Regions from separate parts of the Homo sapiens genome. Here region 1 is linked to region 2. Evidence: promoter capture Hi-C in 16 types of primary human blood cells and fetal thymus (Javierre and others, 2016). All regions are on one chromosome and are shown on one strand. The core of a region is centred on a gene start or on the middle of the fragment in contact, and the rest is flanking DNA. Distances in the headings are between cores, read along the strand shown.

What was found. The method cuts DNA at HindIII sites, captures the fragments that hold promoters and counts their contacts. A CHiCAGO score of 5 or more calls a contact.
Region 1: a fragment that was not itself captured here is called in contact with the fragment with the promoter of TSHZ1 in region 2 in 2 of 17 cell types (endothelial precursors and M2 macrophages); the score reaches 6.6 in endothelial precursors.

The regions. Positions count from the first base shown.
Region 1 is chr18:75,473,691-75,479,066 of GRCh38, forward strand. It overlaps LOC105372201 (a long non-coding RNA gene), which reads left to right. Exons shown (of 3, transcript XR_935637.3): 3 at 498-4,856. Among named protein-coding and RNA genes, the nearest start is that of SMIM21, 49 kb to the left of the region's middle. The HindIII fragment of the contact is 3,102 bases long and covers 1,868-4,969 here.
Region 2 is chr18:75,208,565-75,213,953 of GRCh38, forward strand. TSHZ1 (teashirt zinc finger homeobox 1) reads left to right here and starts at 2,233. Exons shown (of 2, transcript NM_001308210.2): 1 at 2,233-3,352. The coding sequence starts at 3,313. PTGR3 (prostaglandin reductase 3) reads right to left here and starts at 575. Exons shown (of 2, transcript NM_175907.6): 1 at 286-575. The coding sequence starts at 494. RefSeq lists silencers at 49-224, 250-1,289, 3,227-3,546 and enhancers at 80-1,010, 2,050-2,344. The HindIII fragment of the contact is 17,256 bases long and covers 1-5,389 here.

The sequences.
Region 1 (5,376 bases), core at 2,169-4,668, 270 kb after region 2:
CCTTTCCTGCTTGAATGGAATTGAAAAGAATGCAATTGATTTGGCATTAACATATTTTTGCTTCCTGGAAAAAAAAAGTTTTCCACTGTAACCGTTTCTGACAGTTCTTGAATTCTCTAGAAGACCAAGAGTCCTATATGCCTAACAGACAAATATATTCAACATACACGTAGAATGTAATATTGAGGGTTAATATTTTCACTCCTATTCAATTTAATAGATGTTTCTGGCATGATGGAATTGTGAAACTTTATTTCTCTCTCAATGTTTTCTAAAAACAAAGAAAAGAAAAGAAAAATAAATGAAAGTAAATGAATTCTTAGGAAAAATATTTCCATATTTTCCATCTTCTCCCAAAACTTCATTTTTGGAAAATTCTAAAACAAATCTATTTAATTTTATTACACTTCAAAGCTAAATTTTAAAAACTCTACAAGAAATTAAGATACATTTTGGTTAAGTGAAAAAATTAACTGTTAAAACTTTTCCTGGTTTAGACATTAATGAGAGAAGATCTTGTGAGAATTGAAGGAAAATAGAAAAAAAATATTGCAGTTGCAAGAGAAGAATGATGCCTGCTCCGTGGGAATAGTCAAGCCATGAAAAACCAGCCACCTCATTTCTTCCCCAGAAGACCATAAGCACATGGCATCTCACTTTGAGGGGCAAATTCTGAGTTTGGCACTTTATTTATATTTTATTAATGTAAACAATAACAAAACACGTTCAATCACAAGCACTCTACTCAGCCAGCTTTATGTCTACCTCTGAATCGAGGCACTTCTGAGATGCTTCTCAGTGTTAGGGAATGCTGGCCTGGAAGGCTTAGGAGCCAACTGGCAAGCTCATTAGAGGACCAAGAATTGCATCATAAAACAGTGGGACCAAATGTGTGGGCAGTTATTTTAAAACATTATAAAAACCCACCACTGTGTATTTTTCTATGAATTGTTGACAAATGTGCTTAGTAATAGGATAAGTGAAGAAAAATGAATGAATTAGTTGAGATTTACTTACATTTTAACATTAATAATAAAATACATGATGTTAGATGAATAAAATAATCAATATAGACACCTTTATATAGACATCCTTATCCCAGAACTCTTTGTAAAGGACATGTAATGATCATAACCATAACAGCAGCAGCAACTCAACAACAAGAGTGGCCCCACAGGTTCATGGAGAACGTGGGCCACACAGACACTATGCTTGACCCATGAACGCGATTGCATTCAACCTCTCCTTAGGAGAGACTTGGCTACCAGATCACGGAACTGTTAAAGATGTAGAGGCCCCCTGGATGGGGTCAACTGGATGTGTCATTTTTCTGTTTAATTTCTAGGATGGAGTCCTAATGCCTTTGAAATAAGACGTAATTATGTGAACATCATATAAGAAATTTATACCTATGATGACGTCTTACTCTATGTGTCTAAGACAAAAAAATTATGTCTGCTCTTATTCTTCCTACCACATAGCTCTGTGTTTATTGCTTCCTGAAAATTAATGTTTTTATTGATCACTCTTAAAAAAAAAAAAACAGGGTGAGAGGAAACTACTAAGTTGATTAAACTGGTAACCAGTTCTGCGATTTCTTCACCAGCCTGCTTTATCATGATGATAAGACTTTGGTCTTATTTTCCAAATATCTGTAATGCCTCAAAATGAACCAATGATGTTTTAACCCAATAACTCAGCTTTTTTTTTCTTAAAGAATCTTGCTGAGTCACTTTCCTAATACCATTCTCCAGTCATGGAAGTCAGCCAGCTTTGTAATACTGTCTTACAGATGCTCTTCAACTTTTATTGGTCACGATTTGTTTCCCTAAGATTTGTATGCCTTTCAAATCTTCAAAGTTAGTGAAGCTTTCTTCAGCCAGGATTCATCTGTTTATAGAGCAGAGTGGGTGGCTTTTGGAAAATACTTGACATGTTATAATATTGGGCTGAGGAGTCACACGCCACTATCCAAGTTGTCATTGAATGTGCATTTCCTCTTGGGAATGGAGTCCTTAAAACTTTGAGTCCTTTACCAATAGCAAAAATTAGCATCCCTTAACATTTTCACCTGCCTTAACATTGTGGCCTCTGTTCTGCAGACTTCAGCTATTAAGTCAGTTTATTTTTCCCCGACATTATAAGCTACACGCTTCCCACTCACTTCTATCCTGTCTAGCAAACACACTAGTCTTTTCGGTTACTACTTTAAATCACAATGAAAACTATGGTTGTGTATTCACATGCAACTATGGCGTGTGAGTTGATCCCATCCTCTGAGCCCAATCTGTGTGAAGGAAAATGTTTCTCATTAGGAAACCACTTCGTTGTGATCCTTTGGAACCATTTCTAGCTTGTACAAATTATTCAAAATAGACATCTTTCCTTTCCCTGGACTCCACCCCGGCCTTGTCTAGCTTTCTGGTGCTTCCAGAAGTTAAACAAGCAGATGTTATAAACAAAAACAAACAAACAAACAAAAAGCAAAACAAACAAAAAAATAAAAAATAAAAAACATGAAAGACAAAAACAAAAAGAAAACCACTACCATGAATAAATTTCATCTTCTGTGCATTTCTGTTAAAATTTATAAATTTTATATTCTCCATTAAATCTGTGAAGATAATACCCAACTATGTAAACACATTGATATTCGTGGATTTTAAAGAAAATTCTAACAGTACTGACTACTTAAAGTACAGACTTAAAACTGTAAAATTATCCTGACACTTGAGGCTAAAGAACATCTTAGTAAGTGATTTGCTGTGTCTGTTAACATTTTGTGAAAATTTGTAGATGTGTACACTATGTTTGGGTTTGAAGCACTTTCTCACCTCTAACTTTTTTCCTTCTTCACCCCCTTAATCACAGACACAGGAATGCAGCTGCCCTGTGTGTGTCTCCTTCATCCTGCTGGGGACAGGCACGGGCAAGGAGAGCTCAGGGGTAACACACGGGCATAATTGGGGTCTGATGAAATAGGCTAATCATGGATCCACTAAGCAAATATTAATTTTCATTGGAAGCCCTGCCATTTTGTGAACTTATAAGAAATAAACAGAAGTATTGTTAGCCTCAGGATGTATCTCTTTTCTTTAAGAAAAAAGAAACCCATTGATAAATGTCTCTGAAAGGCTAACTCTCACCACTTCATGCTCTTCTAATGCTTCTGCACTGTCCTATGTGAGGCTTGAGTGATGTGGGTGTGCCACTGAAGGGCCGTGGGTAGGAGCGGTGTGTTTTCTGAACACCTGTTACACCTTTATTACCCAGTTCTATGAAAACATGTATAACATAGAAGCAAAGCACTCATGCTAAAGATCGCTTCTGCTGATCCTTGCTGCCAAGATCTCCCTTACGGTCCTCAGCGTCTCTTCCCTTGACCAGGTTCTTCCTGTCTTCTTGGGCTGCTTTCTCTGTATTATTTTTCTCTTCTTCTTCCAGCTTATGGAAACCATTCCTACCACAATTTTCTCTTCTAAATTTGGTTTGATAAAACCAAATACTTTTCATTGTTTCACCTGCAGTGATCTTTTTCTTAGACTTTTGCATTTTGCATTCTTTTAGTTTTAGTATCTGTACTGGCATTTCTTATATAGAGGTCCTGTTCACACCATGCCCACATTCTACAGTGGATTATACACTTTGAATATCAAGCTCCAGCTATATGAGGTAGTTTGGGATTATTGAAAGGACACCAAGAGGCAGAATGGCCATGTAAGTTATTGTTCAAGTCAGGATACTTTTGAGAGTTAAAAAAGGCAAGTTAACAACATCACACCACGGATGTAACTGGGACAATTCCAGCCAAGAACTGAGATGGTCCTTTCTTTCCTCCTCTCCCACCCCATTCTCCTCCTTGTCCTCCTTCTTCTTCCTCCTCTTCCCCATCCTCCTCTACTGCCTGTTCATAGGGGAAATATACGTCTGTCTGTCTGTCTATCTATCTATCTATCTATCTTTCTATCTATTATCTATCCATCTCCCAAATGCAAACACTGAATCACTAGTCAATAAGTCTCATTATAAATGTTTGATGCTAGCCCAATGCTGGGCTCACTTTCTAAACTCCTAGGTAATTCCACAACAGAAAGAAATAAGATTTCAGGTATTATTTTATGTTTCTTATAATATTATCAGTATAGGATACTAGTTAAACTGTGGAGACACAGAGACAAATGGAGACTAGTCTGAATAACCTGGAGACAGTCCTCTCTCACAGCAAAGTAAAATCTGGTTTGGTGGTTCTGCTTTGCAAAGTTATGACGGGCTCAAGCTCTTCCTACCTTTTTGCCTCACTCTCCTGACCTGTTGTCCTCTCCACATAGCCCCAGATGACTCACCATCATATCCACATTCTAGCCAGTGGGAAGGGGAAATGGAGTTGGTAAAAGCATGTTCCTCTTTCTCTTGTGCACTGCAACTCTGCACAGTCCATCTGTTCTTACCCCATTGGCCAGAATGCAGTCACCTTGCTTCTACTGGCTGCAAGGAAGGATGGGGATTGTAGTTTTTCCCATGAGAACTCATATACCCAGACTAAAATTGGTAACTGTATTATCAAGAGAGAGTGGGAGCAACTTGGGGACATTGACAGTTTCTGTCACACTTAGCAATATGATGTACTCATAGAGGGATACACAATTCTTGCTGTTGTTGCCTATTGATAACTTCACTGTGTATTTTCTGGTCTTCAGTTTACCATATTGTGATATATACTGTGTACATGTATAGGGACTTCATTACTTTCACTCAAAAGCTCCAATAAAGAATCATGCAGTCTAGGTGCAGTGGCTCACACTTGTAATCCCAACACTTTGGGAGGTCAAGGCAGGAGGATCGCTTGAGGCCAGGAGTTTGAGACCAGCCTGGGCAACATAGGGAGACCCAATCTTTACAGAAAATAATAATAAAAAGAATCATGCAAATCTCTAATTGTGGAAGTGTTATTTTAGCAAACTACATGAAAAGCTTACGGGTTATACCATTCATTTCCTTACCATGACATTTTATTTAATTTAACTACAAAATCTCAAAGAGTCTAATACTTTCTGATGCTCTTTTCATTTTGTGCCTTTCACATTATAATTTATAGCTTAAAGCCACCTTTCTCAAAGTCTAAAAATCTGTTAGTCAATTTTTCCCTTTTTATAACCTTTCCATATATTCTGTCATATTAAAGAGATGATGAAGCCCATTATGGCCATTAGAATTCTGATGCAATTAAGTTTTATTCCACTATAAGTGACAGGTACTTGATTCCTTCTTGGAATGGGATAATTTTCTACAGGCCTGCAACTCTTACACCCTCGTTAATTTGCAAGGCTGTTTTAGAAAATATGTTGTCAGTGCTGAATGAGGTACATCTCTAACTTT
Region 2 (5,389 bases), core at 983-3,482:
GGAGGGAGGGCTGGAGGAGGGGAGGGGAATCCCAAATTAAAATAACCCTCAGTTATGAGGACGTTCGGTGGCATCGGATATTCACACCAGCAACAGTCACATCACATTCGCCTTCGCCAGATGGCGGCGGGTTCAACTTCCCGGGATCTCGCAAACTCAGGCTGTGCGCCCGAGCGCGCGCCGGAGTGTGGGCACGCGGGCGGGCTGGGGACTGCGGGAGCGGCGCGGCGCGGCGCGAGCCCGGGGCGAGAACGGGGGCGTGGGGTTGGGGGGCGCCGGGCTCACCGGTTCCGGACGAGGAGGTCTCCGTCCCCGGGGAGCGGCACCGGGCAGTCCCGGCTCAGGGTGACGGCCTCGCGGAAGTTGGGGCTCAGCCGGGTCACCACCAGCTTCTGCATGGCTTGGGGAATGGCGGAGCCCTGGAAGTCCAGGAAGTGGCGGGCGTACGACATGTCCACGATGGCCCGGGCCCCGGTGGGCACCAGCCGCAGCATGGCCTGCGCCTCCGCCCGCTCTCTGCGCCGACGCTGGCCGGGGTCGGCCCCCGCCCGGGCCGCTCGGCTCGGCTGTGCTCTGCTCGGCTAGGGCGGGCGGGTCCGCCCCTCCTCCGGCCGGCGCCCTCCCCCTGGCTCCCCCCTTCCCCGCGTCGCCCGCTCCCGCTCCCCCCGCCTCCCCGGCGCCGGCGCAGCCCCCGCGAACCCGGGCGCACCACCCCGGGTGTCCCGGCCTGGGGACCGCTGCCGCCCCGGCCGCTGCTCCTTTAATCTTTTTGTTTTGGTTTGAATCTGCTCGGCGCAGACTGGCCAAGGATCCTCTCCGCCCTCCCCCTTCCTCCTGGCGCGGGAGAGGCACCGGATATCCCCACCCTCCCCGAGCTCTAAAAGCCGGATTTGACTCCTCTCGGGCAAGGGTGGCGGGGGGGACGGCGGGCAAGGGGGGACGGGGGACTCGCGCGTCCCGCGGTCGTCTGCGGCCCCGAGCCGGCGGCAGCCCCGGGCGTCCCCGGAGCTGCGCGGCGGCCGGCGCAGGCGCCTCCCCTTCCCGTGCGAAGCGTTCACTTCCTTGCAAGGTGGTACGAATCAACCCCGAGCGCGGCCCGGGCGGCGGGGCACGACCGGGGACCCCGGGCAGGGCGGGGAGCCCCTGCCGCCGCTGCCGCACGCGCACCCGTACCGACCGCGGGGCGGGGAAATGTCCAGTGCCTCCCGCTCCCCAGGCTGGTGGCTTCCTGTCCCCGGAACCCCTTGCGCGTGCTTTCTGTCCACGGTCTGTCCCATGCAAGTTGCAGGAACTAAGCCATTTTATTTATTTTGGCCTAGATTTCATGTTTTTCCATGAATGTTTTAAGTAGATCTACAAGACTGTTACAGGTTTCCCATTGGGAGAGAACACACATATAGAAAACCAGAAGGCCAAATTCCCAGAGCACAGACACATTTTAAAGTTCTACGTGGGGATGCCGAGGGACTTAACTGAATTGGAGACGTTGCACTGCTGTGTGAGGACCTCATTTTCGAACCCAGCTAGAAAGATCTGTCGTTCCATCGTGTCCGTTTTCTCCCTACTGGCGTGCATGGACCAAATGTCAATTCACTTTTTATAGAGGGGCCAAATTAAATATTTCCACACTTTTCTGTGATGAACTAAGTCCATCTTTACATTTTTATTTAAATTGTAAAATTTAATTTTAAAAATATCTTGCTTTTCAGTTACCCACGAATTACCAAAATATAAAAGCTACTCTGGGCTCCTCCCCAGCCAAATCTAACCCCCCAACCTGAGATTGCAAAAGCGACACAGATATTTTTCCCCCCAAATGTAGGACATGCTTCACCCAAGGGTAGTTTGGATGCACGTGGTTGCGTGTGTATGAATGTGCAAGTGTGTGTATGTGTATGTGTGTGTGTTGGGGGGGAACTAACAGGTTTAAAAATCTGCAGGAACTAATGTCTACTTAACTTAGAGCATATGGGTTTTACCCGGTATCAGCCAGTGGGTTACAATAACAACACTGAATGAATTCCTCCAATGTACAATCTTTTATGTTATGCTGTATTAAGATTTCTTTTTTTTGTCATATTGTTTAGCTCCGAAAAAAAGAAAACAAAGCAATTAAAAAGATTGACAGGTATGGTTTGTGAGAGACCTATTTGTAATTGTCAGGGTGACGTTGGCGAGAGGAGGAGGAGTAAAAACTGAAGCAGGAAAAGCAGCTCGATGTGTCTGTCTATCAGTTGAGACTGTCTGAAAGCTCTGCGATCCGAATGTGTGTTATATTTCACTGAAAAGAGGAGAGAGCGAGAGTGCATCTCCCTCTCTCCCAGGAGTTTGAGGGGGGGGGGGACAGTCCACGCTCATCTCGCCCACCCAGTGAATGTCTGCTCTTCACCCCCTTTGCACACACTCTCCGGGTTGTTGTTGCCTTTTTTTTTTCTTGGAGGGGGGGGTGCTTTTTGTGTATTTTTCAAATTTTTTTCTGTTGGAAGATCAAGACCGGCCAAAAATCCATGATCAAAATGTGTTTGCATTAGATTTCGCATTGGAAGAAGCGGCGATCCTGGCGGCCAAGCCCCCCGGGTGGAAGCGCGGGGCACCAAGTGGCGCTCCGGCGGGGTGACACTGTTTGATCTGTGACTGTTTGGAAGGTGGAGCAGCGCCTGACATCTCCCCCCGGCGCATGTATGTACGGGGGCTTCACTCCTCTGTCTTGTTTGCTTTCTTCCTCTTAGACTAAGTGCGGGGAGGAAAAGGACAGCCTGCATCGGCCTCGCTGGCGCACAATGAGAAAGCTGCGACCCGCGCACTAAAAACACTCGCCGCGACCCCCAAACAGCGAGGAGAGAGGGGGAGAGAAAGTTGCGCTCGGCGACTCTCGGCTCGCGGAAGAAGGCGCAGGGGAGCGCCCGGAGCGGCGCGCCGGGAGGAGCGCCCGCCCAGCAGCAGCGCGGCGGCGGGGAGGCGGCAGCATGGAGCGCGGGCCGCGGGCCGGCCCGCCGAGCGCCCGCTGCTGCGCCCGCGGCCCGCGCCGGGGATGACTCCGGGCTCGGCGCCCAGGCCCCGCGCGCTCCGCCCGCAGCCCGGCGCCGGGAAGCGGGCCGCGCGGCCGCCGCCGCCGCCTCCTGAGCGGCCCCGGGCGCGGCGGTCCATGCGAGCGGCTCCCCGCGGTCCGCGGCGCGCCCGGAGCCCGGAGCCCGCGGGGACGAGGCCAAAGTTGGGCGCGCCGCGGAGTTGCGCCCGCGCCCGGGGCCCCGCGTCCCCGCGCCCCGCGAACTCCGGCGGCGGCTGAGGCGACGGCTGCGGCGGCCGAGCAGCATGCCGAGGAGGAAGCAGCAGGCCCCCCGGCGCTCGGCAGGTAACGGGCGCGCGGCCCGCGCCGCGGGGAGTGGGCGCCGGGAGGAGCAGGAGGAGGGGGCTTCGCGGGCCGAGGTGCGGGACGTGGGCCGCGGGCCGCCCCAAGCTGGGGAGGGGAGGCCCAGCCTGCGCTGGCCACAGTCGTCTGGAGGCTGCGGTCGCCGTCCTCCCCCACACCCCCAACCTGGGCCGGCGCGTGGAGCAGAGAAAGTTCGCGGTGCTTCTCTGCGCTGCGGGAAGCCCGGATGGCCGGGGGAGGCCGGGGGCCGCGGGACGGCGGGTGCTTCTGGCTACCTCAGGAGGGGGCGTGCGCTGAGGGGAAGTAGTTGCTCCTTGGCTGCCGGAGCGCACTGGAAAAGTCCTCCAAAGGCGGGGAGGCTGAACCTGACACTTGAAAACAAGGTCACCAGGCTGGGACGCAAAGAATGTGTTCAGAAGATTTCTCTGGAAAACAGCAGCCTTTAATGTCCTGTGCAAGAGGCCCCCCGCCCCCACTTTTTTTTTATTACCTCTAAAGATGTCTTTTGATCAGGCCAGCACAAGGCAGTGATAGTGCAGACTCTGATTGAACAGAAAAGTTATTTTTCTCTGGAGGAGGAACTGGCAGGAGCTGGTTTTCCTTGTTTTCTGTTTTATTAGAGGATTGCCATCCTTGATTTGATGTGTGATTGATCGCCTGTCATCTGGCAGCCTTTGATCTATTCATTCCTGATAAACATCAATAAATCACTCACCATGGAAACACACATGCTCCTGACAGCTCCGCCACTATCAGGGCAACTTTTCTCTCTCGCTCCCCCTTTTGCTGCTCCATTTTAATTTTGTCTCAGAAGTTTTACAGCTGCAGCATCCCTTAACTCAGCTCACCTACTAATCCATTGCTAAACCTGGGGTGGGTCAGCTGCCGTGCGTTTTTGAGCACAGGTTTGAAAATAGCCCAGTGATTCTGCTGCCTGCTCAAGTCTTGTCTCAGTTTTGGACATTGCGTTTGTGGGGCTGAGAATGCAACCCATATGCCAGTGAGTTATCGCTAAATAATAGAGTAAATCAACTCTCTCCAAGCTCTTAGGGTAAAAATATTAGAAGGAGTGTTTTATGTTTAAACATGAGCGACTCTTTAGCTGTTGCAGTACAGAATAGAATCTGAATAAGTTTGAGTATCACATTCAGTAATGTGCACGTGTTCAAGTCTTTATACGTGCTTTTTCTGGGGAAGCACTTAAAGCAGAGATTACTGCTACTAAAAAAATTTGGGAATAGTATCTACGTTTATGAATGGTTCAGTAAAATAACCTCATCATTTCCATTAGATCACTGATAGAGATGCTCTCAAAGAGTTGAAGGAGATTACCTTATGCTGAGTATTCACAACATAAAAGGAACAGAATGGAGAATATTTATTTTGGAATAACTTTGAGTAATGGAGGAAGAAACCTTTCAAAGAGAGTATCTATGCCACTGGTAGCCCCCAAATAATATAGCTCAGTGTCTCAAGATATTCGCCACTTGCTCATGCTAGAAACAAGAGGTCTTTACATTTTCACAGTTAGAGGGATTTTTTTTTAAATGACAGAATGTACAATAAAAAGTTGTGTTCAGAAAACTACTCCTGTACTCTTAAGAACTTTTGCAGTTAAAATTGCGGTGAATATTTCCAAGGACAAACAAAATGCTGAGGGAATGAGGTACTGCAACTTTAAATACCACATTTTTTTTTTTTTTAAATAAAAGGTTTGAAAGTTGACAAGGGCATGATGGTGCATGGTAATCCATCCTGGCAGCTCTTACATAAAAACAAGCCGTCAAGGCGACTTTTTTCCAATATTGATTTAATTGTCTGTCTTTTGACAGGCACATATATCATTGGCTTTAATGGTCAATCAAAAGTTGGCAGGCTTAGTGTTTCCATTCTTTCCTCTACACGACATTTGGCATACTTAATCAAAATGCTGCAAAGTGATGGCTATGAAGAGTTGATGACTGAGTCATCTGCTGTACAGGAACTTGAGAGGGAAAAAACCCTAAAAAATGGAGCCAA